Linked DNA regions of Homo sapiens: regions 1 and 3 are each linked to region 2. The links are contacts of gene promoters, found by promoter capture Hi-C in human tissues and cell types (Jung and others, 2019). All regions are on one chromosome and are shown on one strand. Each heading gives the region's core, a stretch centred on a gene start or on the middle of the fragment in contact. The rest is flanking DNA. Distances are from core to core; before and after follow the strand shown. Region 1 has its middle 99 kb from the start of CDKN3. Region 2 holds the start of BMP4 (bone morphogenetic protein 4). Region 3 overlaps LOC105370504 (a long non-coding RNA gene).

The links. The method cuts DNA at HindIII sites, captures the fragments that hold promoters and counts their contacts. A contact is called where the count stands out against the background at its distance.
Region 1: a contact is called between a fragment that was not itself captured here and the fragment with the promoter of BMP4 in region 2, in 1 of the 25 tissues and cell types used here (lymphoblastoid cells).
Region 3: a fragment that was not itself captured here is called in contact with the fragment with the promoter of BMP4 in region 2 in 1 of the 25 tissues and cell types used here (lymphoblastoid cells).

The regions. Positions count from the first base shown.
Region 1 is chr14:54,296,794-54,300,079 of GRCh38, forward strand. No RefSeq gene overlaps it. Among named protein-coding and RNA genes, the nearest start is that of CDKN3, 99 kb to the right of the region's middle. The HindIII fragment of the contact is 7,875 bases long and covers 1-3,286 here.
Region 2 is chr14:53,955,011-53,958,687 of GRCh38, forward strand. It overlaps BMP4 (bone morphogenetic protein 4), which reads right to left and starts at 1,815. Exons shown (of 4, transcript NM_001202.6): 1 at 1,540-1,815. LOC124903317 reads left to right here. Exons shown (of 2, transcript XM_047432035.1): 1 at 1-1,318. The coding sequence starts at 891. RefSeq lists promoters at 1-713, 1,641-3,677, 1,641-2,983 and silencers at 939-1,048, 1,698-1,777. The HindIII fragment of the contact is 13,246 bases long and covers 1-3,677 here.
Region 3 is chr14:53,681,883-53,685,135 of GRCh38, forward strand. The region is part of intron 2 of LOC105370504 (a long non-coding RNA gene); the gene reads left to right. LINC02331 (long intergenic non-protein coding RNA 2331) reads right to left here. Exons shown (of 6, transcript NR_184221.1): 6 at 3,115-3,253. Among named protein-coding and RNA genes, the nearest start is that of LINC02331, 170 kb to the right of the region's middle. The HindIII fragment of the contact is 3,198 bases long and covers 1-3,137 here.

The sequences.
Region 1 (3,286 bases), core at 265-2,764, 340 kb after region 2:
TCATACATATGATGCTGCAAGAAAAAAAAACGCATTTGTGTGGTGTTATTTGTAGCAATTGTTTTCCAACCCCTTCATACCCATTCTAGAGAAGTACTTATTTGCAGGATAGTAATACAACCACTTCAATTTTTTTTGTGAGTTCTTCTGGGTTTTCACATATTGCCCCCATCCATTCCAGGTAATGAAAACACAACTATTTGAGATTTAGCACTCATACTGCTCTTTGTTCAGAGTCACAAATGTCTTATATTTTTCAGAGCTATAAGCTGAGTTTTTCCTTTTTTGGTAGGGAACTTAAACCAAAATCAAGGCTGAAAAAACTAATGTTCCTAAGAGTAAAATGTACAATTCCTAATTTCTCTAGCCTATAATAATGGCTATATCAGCAGCACTGCCACTCAAAGAAAGCTATGAAAACAAGAGGATGTTTTAGAGAAAATCCAAGAAAGAAATAATTTATTATCTTCCAATCCTCAGACAGATATTTCTCTTTTATCTTGATGCCTGACGTTTCTTTCTTAATATATCTACCATGTAGATGGCTCTTTCTGTATCTCTTTTTTTCCCGTTTCTTCTCTTAGAACTCGTCACTAGAGTATCTACCTATTAAGCTCTTAGTCCCTCCCCTGCCTTTTAATCCTCCCTCCACCCTCAATTTCTACATGAAGTGCACCAGCTCTTCCCTTAATTTTTTTTCTTCTGTGAGATGAGCTCCCAAGTTCTTACTTCTTTCTGCTTAACTTTGTGTGAAAATGCAAGGGTTTAAGATTTACAGCTCTGCTTAAAAGGCTCTCTTCCTCCCTATTCTGGGGCTTGACTACTGAGCAAAGAATCCCCCAGCTGAAATCTCAGCAGAAGAGGGGTTTTGAAGACATATCCAGAGCTCCCAGTTCAATCAAAAAAGCAACTTTTGAACTTGTCCCATTACGGTGGCGACGGAGTTTTCACAGCCTGATCCATATGTCTAAGGACACTTTCAGCAGCCTCCATGATGTATTAACCAAACACCTGGATTTAATAAGAACCTTTTCACAATAGGGAGAGCCTGTGTGCACACAGACTTACTCTCAGGTCAGTTGAGAATAGCCAGTGTTGATGTCACAGAACAAGGCCCCACTCCTGGGTAAAGTAACTAAAAGGCAGAGAAAATACAATGTTGAAGAGCAGCAAGAAATGATATATACTGGTCATTAAGAGCATGGGCATTGCAATCCCAGTGTTACCACAGAAGAGTTTGTGTGATCTTGAGCAAGTTAACTTCTCTAAGCCTCAATTACCTCATCTGTAAAATGAGGCTATTTCTGGTAGCTACCTCATTTTTCTATGAATGTTTGATGAATAGTATAAAAAGCACCTATTTAGCACACATGGTACCATGCTTGATAAATAGTTCCTATTATTATTATTGTTTTTATTTGCTGAAGCATCATTGAACCAGGCAACTTCTCATGATAGCAAAGTAGAGTTTGGGCCAATGAGTATATTGTCAGGTTTCCCTCCTGGATAATCCAAGCTTTATACCAGACGAAGTAAATAGAAAAGAAGAAAAATAATAAACAAAGAATTTTTAAAATGTGCTTCTAATATAAATGGTCTAAAAGCAGAAAAGAAAAAATAAAAACAACAGAGAAAACAGATCTGTCATGAATTTGGAAAAGACTCATCCATGAGTCCTTCAAAATTCTTTTCTCAAGGGAGAAGAATCTCCCCCAGACAAGAGAGGTAACAACTAGTCTCAAAATACCAAGAGAAAATGCAAAATTCTGGCGTTTGGCATTGAGCTAGCAGTCTCCAGGTCGTGTTTTTGACCTGTCTGCCAAGTTTCTGCTGCTGGAACCACTGAAAGAGGGATCCTAAGGAAGATACACATATACTTTCAATCCTAAATGCATGCACATTCAAGGGAATGCCCTGGAGAGAGGGGCTAACTTCATCAACCTTACCACACTGGTACTTGTAATGGCTGATATTCTGACCCTGTGGCCAACCAAGTATCCAGAGAGGGATTTCTCCCTTTCTCAGAGTTGGAGTAACCTCACAGAAAGGTTGTTCCAATGGCCCATAGTTGATAGCAGACAAAACAAATTCAGATGTGTGGTAGAATGGGGCCAATTCTAATATCAAGACCATGGTTATGCTGCCAACCACTTCATTGATTTTAAATCTAGTTTACTGGGGCCAGAAAATTCAACAGCTTCTACATCCTAAAACATGAGATGCCAGCAATGGTCAGATGTCCTTAAAATGAGCCTTTGTGTTGATTCTTTTTAGCTGGAGCTGAAAGGAGAGAGCACCTGTGAATTGTTCATGGGCTTAAGTAATTGTTGAATAAAGGTTTCCTTAGTATGTGCTCAAAATTTTCACCTGTGTGGGAAACGGCACCAGCCATGTGCCTCATTTACCTAAAATCCAAGCATTCTCCTCCCTATGGAAATGTAATTGTTCCCTAAAATATCAATGACTTTGTTTCATTCTTGTGAAGTATCTTTTTCACTGATAATGACTTCCAAAGACTTCAAATATCTGAAATCATCAGAGCAAAACTTACATAACGGCCTTTTTTCTCTTTATGAAATAGCTGCTTAAAAGTCGTAATACAGCCGAAGTCCAGTTACATTGCAAACAACACAAAACAAAGTTCCTTGCTTCTTTCACTCGCTTCATCTAGTGACTGACATAGTGAGAGTAATAGCACTGACCCGGTGCCTGGCGAACGTTTCTCCTTTTATAACCACTTGAGCGTGGCAGGCTCTTCCTATTAACTACATTACATCATCATTATCAAAGACGAAAGGAAATTAATTTTGTTTTTCAAGGTCTTGGCAATAAGTCGGTTCTTTACTTCATCAGACATCTGCTGTTTTTCTACGTGTGTCATTTGTGAAGCTGAGTTTTCCTTATGACTTTATTCTCATAACAATTTATCACGCAACAGTGTTTACCAGAGAAGTTGGGCCGACGGATTTTTCTCTCTCCAAACAAAAAGTGTAACATTAACTTAAAGCCAATATCATCATCTATATTTCATTCTCAAATAGTTTTCTGGGCTTTAAAAGAAAAAAAGCCAACAAGGCTGTCAAGAAAAAATAACCACTTATGGTCTCTCTGGTTGAAATGTATTGCCAACGCTCCTCGACTTTGTTTTAACAGATGGGTCTTTATCAGCAAATTCTGTGGGCAGCTCACCAACTTCCCTTAGGAATGGAGGCATGCTTCCATTTGCTTCGGCTCTTATCTGTTCACTTACAGCCACATTTGACCACAAAATTCTAGGTTTTTTTTT
Region 2 (3,677 bases), core at 565-3,064:
ACCAACACCTCAGGTCCGGGTGCGGAGGCCGCGGGCGCCCCTGCGCGACCGTCCGCGCCCGGCAAGAGCCGCGCGGCTTTCGCCTTTGCTGGTCCCGCGCCACCGCTGGGGCGGGCTGCGAAAGGGTTGGGAAGAGCAAAGGGTTTTTTTGTTTTGTTTTGAGACGCAGAAGCCCTTTAAAAAGCCCGGCGAGGAGAGGTCCAGAAGTAGAGAAAGCAGACGGAGGCAAGCTGTGCCCGCGGGGCAAAGGGACAGTAGAAGGGGCGGGCGCCCGGGTTCCCCGGAAAACCCTCGGCCCCAAGGAATCTCCTGGGGCGGGAGAGCGCGGTTCTAAAACCGAGAGGATAGGAAGGGGAAGGGGGAGTTGTGTTTCAATTTCGGATTCACCAGGATTCATCTCTAGTCACATTTTTCTTCTCAAATTTTTAAATCGAAAAGATAAAAGCCAAAAGAACTTTCATCCCCAGAGCTTTTTATTGGGGGAAAGGAATGTAACTCGGGGTGGTTGTCCTTCACTTCCCTACTCGAATCTTCTCCTAATGCCGAAATGTGTTTACAGGTAGCCTCAGTTTACCAAGTATGTATCTTTTGGGGGTTTAACCTCTCACAAAGCCTTCAACTCACAAACCGCGATCCTTGGAAACCATCCTCCAAAGCAGTGCTTGGAGGCCTCTAAGGCCCCCGGACCAACTCCCGCTGGAAGAAGCCTGCAGGGACTCGGGAATCACGGGAACCTTTCCCGTCGGTTCCGGGCCTGGAGGGCCAGGAAGAGCCGCGCGTCCGCCTTTCGTCCCGCCAGGAACTCCCCATAGGACACGACACCGCAGGAACAAGCGTCCTGGGAGCCCCTGGGATCTTGGCTGTCGTCTCTAGGGACCCTACACCGTGAAATGATAGAGGCGAGGTTCCTTGGGTTCCGCAAGTCGACGAAAATAGCTCGTGGAGAAGGCGCGTCCTGCAACTGCAGTTCGCAAGCTCTCAGGGCGCCCCGCCAGCTGGGGGCCAGATTGGGTGACACTCCCCTCGACGCAGCCTCCGGAGCGGCGCGCACTCTCCAGAGGCCAGCAGGACTGCGCTCTCTACCGCAGAACCTGCTCCAGCTAGGTGTTCTCTCCCCATCTCGCCGTCGCTCTGCCCCCTCACTCTCTCTGGACCTCAGAGCCGGTTCTCTCCTTCCTCCTCCCGCGCTTTCCGTCCGGGGATCGCAACCTCCAGCCCGTGGGCAACGCGTTCAGCCCAAGACCCCACAGTTTTTCCCAACGACCCCCCTACCAAGGGCTTCTCTTGTTTCTGCTCTCCTGCCCCGCACTTCCCAAAGGTGAGAATCTCCCAGGGACTGCTGGACAGAGAAGGCCTGGGCAGGGGCAGTAGCCGATATTTAAAGGTCTTTCAGCGCCAGCATCCCCACCTCCAGCACCACTATTGGAAAATAATTAGGCCACCTTTTGCCTCGGTCACAGCCTGTGACCAGCTTCTTCCCCCCAAGGAGGCTCCTAGACCCCCTCTGCCTGTCTCCCCTCACCAGGTAGCCTTGCTCACCATAGGTCCCTGCAGTAGCGGGCTCGCCAGCAGCAGCTCCTGGGGACCTCTGAACGGTTGCAGTGAACCTGGGCGAGGGCCGGGGACTGTGGCGCTGCAGGCTCGAGATAGCTTGGACGGGAATCCCATCGGGGAGACAAGCTAGATACTCAGCCGGAGCAGCAGCGGCGTCTCAGGCTCGCGTCCCTCAGCTCGGATGCCACACTCACCTAGCTTCCGGGCCGGGCTCCGCGCTCCTTCCCTCCCTCCCTCCTCCTCTGCCTTCTCGCATCTTCCTTCCTCCTCTTTCCCTCCCTCGCTTTCTTTCTTTCCTTCCTCCTCCTCTTCCCCGGCGGCCCCTCCCTCCTTCCCTCCTCCCTCGCTCGCCTCCCTTTCTGGGGATGGGAGCCCCGCCCACATCCTCCCCTCCAGCCGCCCGACCTCGCCTAGCAGGCCCGGGTCCCGGAAGCCCAGGCAGCGCCCGAGTCCGCAGCTGCCGTCGGAGCTGGGACGCCGCTGCCTCCAGCTCTGGGAAGCGGCTGGGGCTCACCTGGGGACCACGTGCGGAGGTACTAGAAAGCATGCACCGACTAGTCGCCGTACCTTCCAAAAATACCCATGGGAGTCTGGGCTTCCCTGAGTTTAGTGTAACTGCTGCCCAAACTGATGATTAAAACACTGAGTAATCACCATTTACCCTGAGTAATTAGAGATAATGAAACACCTCTAAAATCAGGTTATGGAGAAAGGAGCTGTTGGATCGGTTTAAAAGGTGGCCTTCCATAAACTGTTAAAAGATTTCCAAACGTTGAGAAACAGGCTGTGTGCAGAACTGTGTGCCAGAGAGAGATACCTCTTGGGCTGTTAAAAGGTGAATTTCCTTCCAAAACATTCTTAAAGTGCGTTTTGTAGAACACCTTGGTGATGACCCTGAGGTAGACCCCAGTAAATGAGCTCACTTCCCTCCTCCCCCCAAGGCCTAAAGACAGAGGTGGCCTGCAGACAGGCTGGGGCCACGTTTTTTACAGTTAGAAAAATCTGTTTCTAGCTCAGAAGCCGTCTTAAGAACCGACACAGCAGTTATTTTTGTTGGTGTTATGGTTGTTGTTGATTTTTTTGTTCATTTTTGGTGTACCTAAGAGTCCTGACACTCTGTCTTTCCAAGGAGATAACCACAGAAGCAGTAACCTTTTAGGCCACAGGGAGACAAGAAAAGATGCCCCTTGGTCTGTTTTTAAAGGAAGAGGGGAGATGAGGAATTGGCCCTTTCATATAAAAACATTTTAGTAATCATATTAGCAGGGAGGTGGAATGTGGTGGCTTTTAAACCTTCCCAAACAGGAACTAATTTCACACACTGCCTCTGATGGAGCTGTGAGGGAGCTATCAGCCTCATCTCTCTGTTTTACAAACAAGGAAAGGCAGGACTACCAGGTTAAAGGGACTTGCCCAGATCTCTGAAGTAAATCACAGCCTCTGCTCCAGAGCTAATGCTTCAGGGAGGGGTTGAGGCTCATAGCCTGAGCTCCAGGTAGCCAGAGGAGTGCTGGAAGACTGAGCATTTCCTGTCCTGGATTTCTTTCCCTGGGACAGACATGACACTTTACTGTCTCTGCAAAGCATTTAGGTCTTTACTTAAACAGATATTGGCCCTGGGTGGCTCATCTATAAAAACTTTACGTTTATACACCTTCGATATTTAAAAAACAAGAACTACTTCCTGTGTGGAACACAGATTACAAAGGGTGGGAAATATCTGAGATCAGAGAAGCAACTGTCAGAGCAAGGCCAAGACATCCTGCCATCTTTTCCATCTATTAGGCCTAGGTCTTTTGGCCTAATGCACCAAACAACAGAAACAAGCTGTATGGCTTTGGGCAAGTCTTTTCATTCCTATGAGTCTCAGTTTTCTCATCTGCAGAATGAAAGGATTGGGCCAGATCATCTGCATGCTCCCTTTATATTTGAAAATGATTTGATTATTTAATTGTAATTTTAGCCAAAGTCCGTCTTCCTTCATTTTAAGTCACTCCTGAGTTCACTTTCTCTAAGAACCACTGATTAAAACAGGGCAGGGCAATAACACCACCCCAAAAGGAGGACAAAATATACCTGTAGCTTCCAAATAGTCAAAATCACAATTAATTATTAAAAATAAT
Region 3 (3,253 bases), core at 289-2,788, 270 kb before region 2:
TGCTGCCCTAATGAAGTCCTTCTGATATTTCTAGCCATGTATCCCTATGGACTGGCCCCTTAGACAGGCCTGCCTCCCCCATTTCCCCTTGTGCAGCACCAGTGGTGGTGAGATTCTGGAGTTTAGGACATTCCAGAATGTAAGGGCCCATCCGACAATTAAAGCTTGGGGTTTGGTCAGTTTTAGCTTGGAGACATGGCTGATATTTTCTGACACAGGTTTCCTCTCCTGAGGGCAAAGGGCGAGCTAATTTCTCTCTTTGTTCAAATGTTGAGCTGGATTCCAGAGACGGCCCATGCACTGCGGCACACCTGCACATCAGGGAAATTACCCTGGGACCGTTCATGACAGCACCAAGTGGCAGGGATCTTGGCTCCAGTGTCCACTGGAAAAATGGAAGCATAAGTGATATGTAAGAATCTTGGAAAGTAGATGTTTGACCTGAAATAATTGATTTGACCTTAACATCATTCCATTGAAAAAACAAAAATAAAGCATCGACTGCAAATGAAGACCTATGGCTTGCAGTTTAAGAAATGACTGGTGCTGTGCTCTTCAGTATAGATGTATGTTTTATGGAGGCTTTTCCAGATTAGGCATGAATTGGTTTGGTTTTTCGTCTGTACTGAAGATATTTTTAGAATTCATCTTTAATCACACTGTCTCAAAACAGTGCACAAGAGCTTCTTAACTTGCTATTGTATTGCACATGTCTTGATGTTTGTATTTTTCCTGGTATGAAACTGGGAATTATTTTTGATTTGTGCACCATTATTTGGGACTACATTCAATTTAGGAGTTGTTACTGTTAAGATTCATACAGTTGGTTACAGAGTTTGTTAGCCACTTGTTGACTTTCTAGAACATTGTCCTTACAAATAAGCCTTGGTATAAGTCACCACACAATCTAAGAGATGTCTACAGTAATTGACACCACACTTACTTAAGTGTATAGATCCATCCCGAGCTATGACATCTTGGGCTATTGAAAAGGTATTTGTGATCTTTTAACTTAAATTCTAGAATGATTTCTTTTAGTTAGAAAACTATCACAACAACACTTTTCCCTTTGGACTTTCCTTCTCTGTGTGTATTTATGACAGTATTGCCTAGTCAGGATGAGGGGACTTACTAAATGGAGAGCAGAAAGCTGTCTGGTAAGCCCTGGTAAGCTGACCCATTCGTTTGTTCCTGACAAATATCAGGTGTTTTCTCATATGTGCTGATATAAGCTAGGAATTGTAATTATTTCTTTTTGGCTTTTAAAGACTATTTTTTAAGGTTATCCAAAAATATGGATTAAAAGTGGCCAACACAAGTACCCATCCTTGTCACAGGCACTGTGATTTTTTGCCAAAGAGCCTAGGTGAGCTTTTCTTTTCATTTGGTTAATCACCCTAAATTGGTTGTTCATCCCCCAAAGCCATTAATTACTCCAAAATACCCAATTTGCCTTTTTCACTCTCAAATTTATGACCATATAATTAATGAGCCTCTTAATTCTATGTTGTGCATTGACTTATTCAGCAGTGAAACGTGACACTGTGTTAGGATTAGATCGTTGGGTTCTTTCCAATAAATGAAACATTAGATTTCTAGAAAATTTGCTGTGGCATGTCTGAGCCAATTCAAGATTAGATGGCTCAACATGCGAATTACCCATCTGTATAATGTGTAACTACCCGTAAATCTTATCTCTTTCAACATCAGCAACTCCCTAACGCTTTTTTTTTCTTTCTATTCATCAGCTACTTCTAGGTGAGATATGAAACTGGGCTCTTAAAAAAATTTCTGGAACAAATTTACCATGGGAACTGAGTTTAGCATCTTAGTATTCAGTTTCCCTTTGAAAAGTGAACCCAGAAATGTCTCCCTTACTTTATGTGCCCATGTATGGGTTCAGCCAGTTATCATTTTAGCTCTAGACTAAAATGGTTAGCTCTGCAAGGCTCCACATCCCGTGAATACTTTAAAAGTACCTTTTGATCAAGTCAATAACAAACTATTATGGTGCCCATCGAATGCTTAGAAATCCTTGGAAGAAAGGACTTAAAGATAGATAAGCAATTCTGCAGTTGAAGTCTGTAACTTCTTTGTAGTTGCCAGGGCTCTTTCACTCTGGGACTGCTGATGTGGAGAAAGGTTCTCTTACTACCCAACCTATATTGGGTAGTAAGTGTATAGAAAGCTACACACTGAAACATGTAAGAATTCACCAAGGGGAAATTGAATTTCATTGTGAGATAAAATGTTGAAAGAAAATGTTTTCACCAAAATATTTTCTTTCCCAATTCTGTCACTGCTGGCGGTGGAGGTTTCATTTGGGTCTCCTTCAGGCTGTGTGGAGCCTGAATAATGCACTTTCAAACACAGATTCTATGTATGGGCCAATCTTTGGTTAATTTGACAATTAAGATTTTTCTTTGTTAAAACCAAATGGAAAGAAAATGGGAAACGCTGCTGAAATTTCTGTCAAATGTTGCAATTCAAGTCACTCTTTAGACAAAAATATTATTCCTTTAAAATATTTTATGTGAAATAGAAACAGTTTTGTGATAAATTTCACTTCTAGTCCTTTCTAGAAGTCAAAGATCATCAAGTGAACTCATGTCTAATTCACTTGTCACTTACACAACCTTATTTATAGTTTCATTCTCCAGAAAATGAGTAACGATTGTCCAGCTGAATAATCCTAGCCCCAGATATTATGTAATTGTATCTTTCAAATTCTGCCAAGGTTTTAAGATACTGATAACTATTTTAGATCACCTTTGTGCTATTAGGGAATATTATGTATGTTTTGGCAAAAAAAAATTTTATAAAGCTTCATTATACATATGCACGTGCATGCATGCTAATATGAAATAGGGAAATACAATTTGACGTAAAAATTCACTAATCCCAGTGTCATTGTTTATGACTACACTTTCATTCACTTACTTATTCAAAATTATGGGATGTTTCCAATACATCACACACTTCCTACAGCTGGAATACAGAGCTGAATACATGCGTTCTTCTCAGGAGAAGCTCCAAATTTAGTTGATTAGACAGATCTACTCACATCAACTTCATACCAAAGTGACGAATGCTACCTTAGAGATAGAAACAAGGTAGATTAGAGTGGATTTTATTTTTTATTTCTCTTTTTCCATAGTTTCCAAGTTTTCTAAATGAGCATGTATGACTTATACAATCAGAAAACAAAACAATAAATGTGATAAAATCAGACACATAAGAATAACAATAAAGG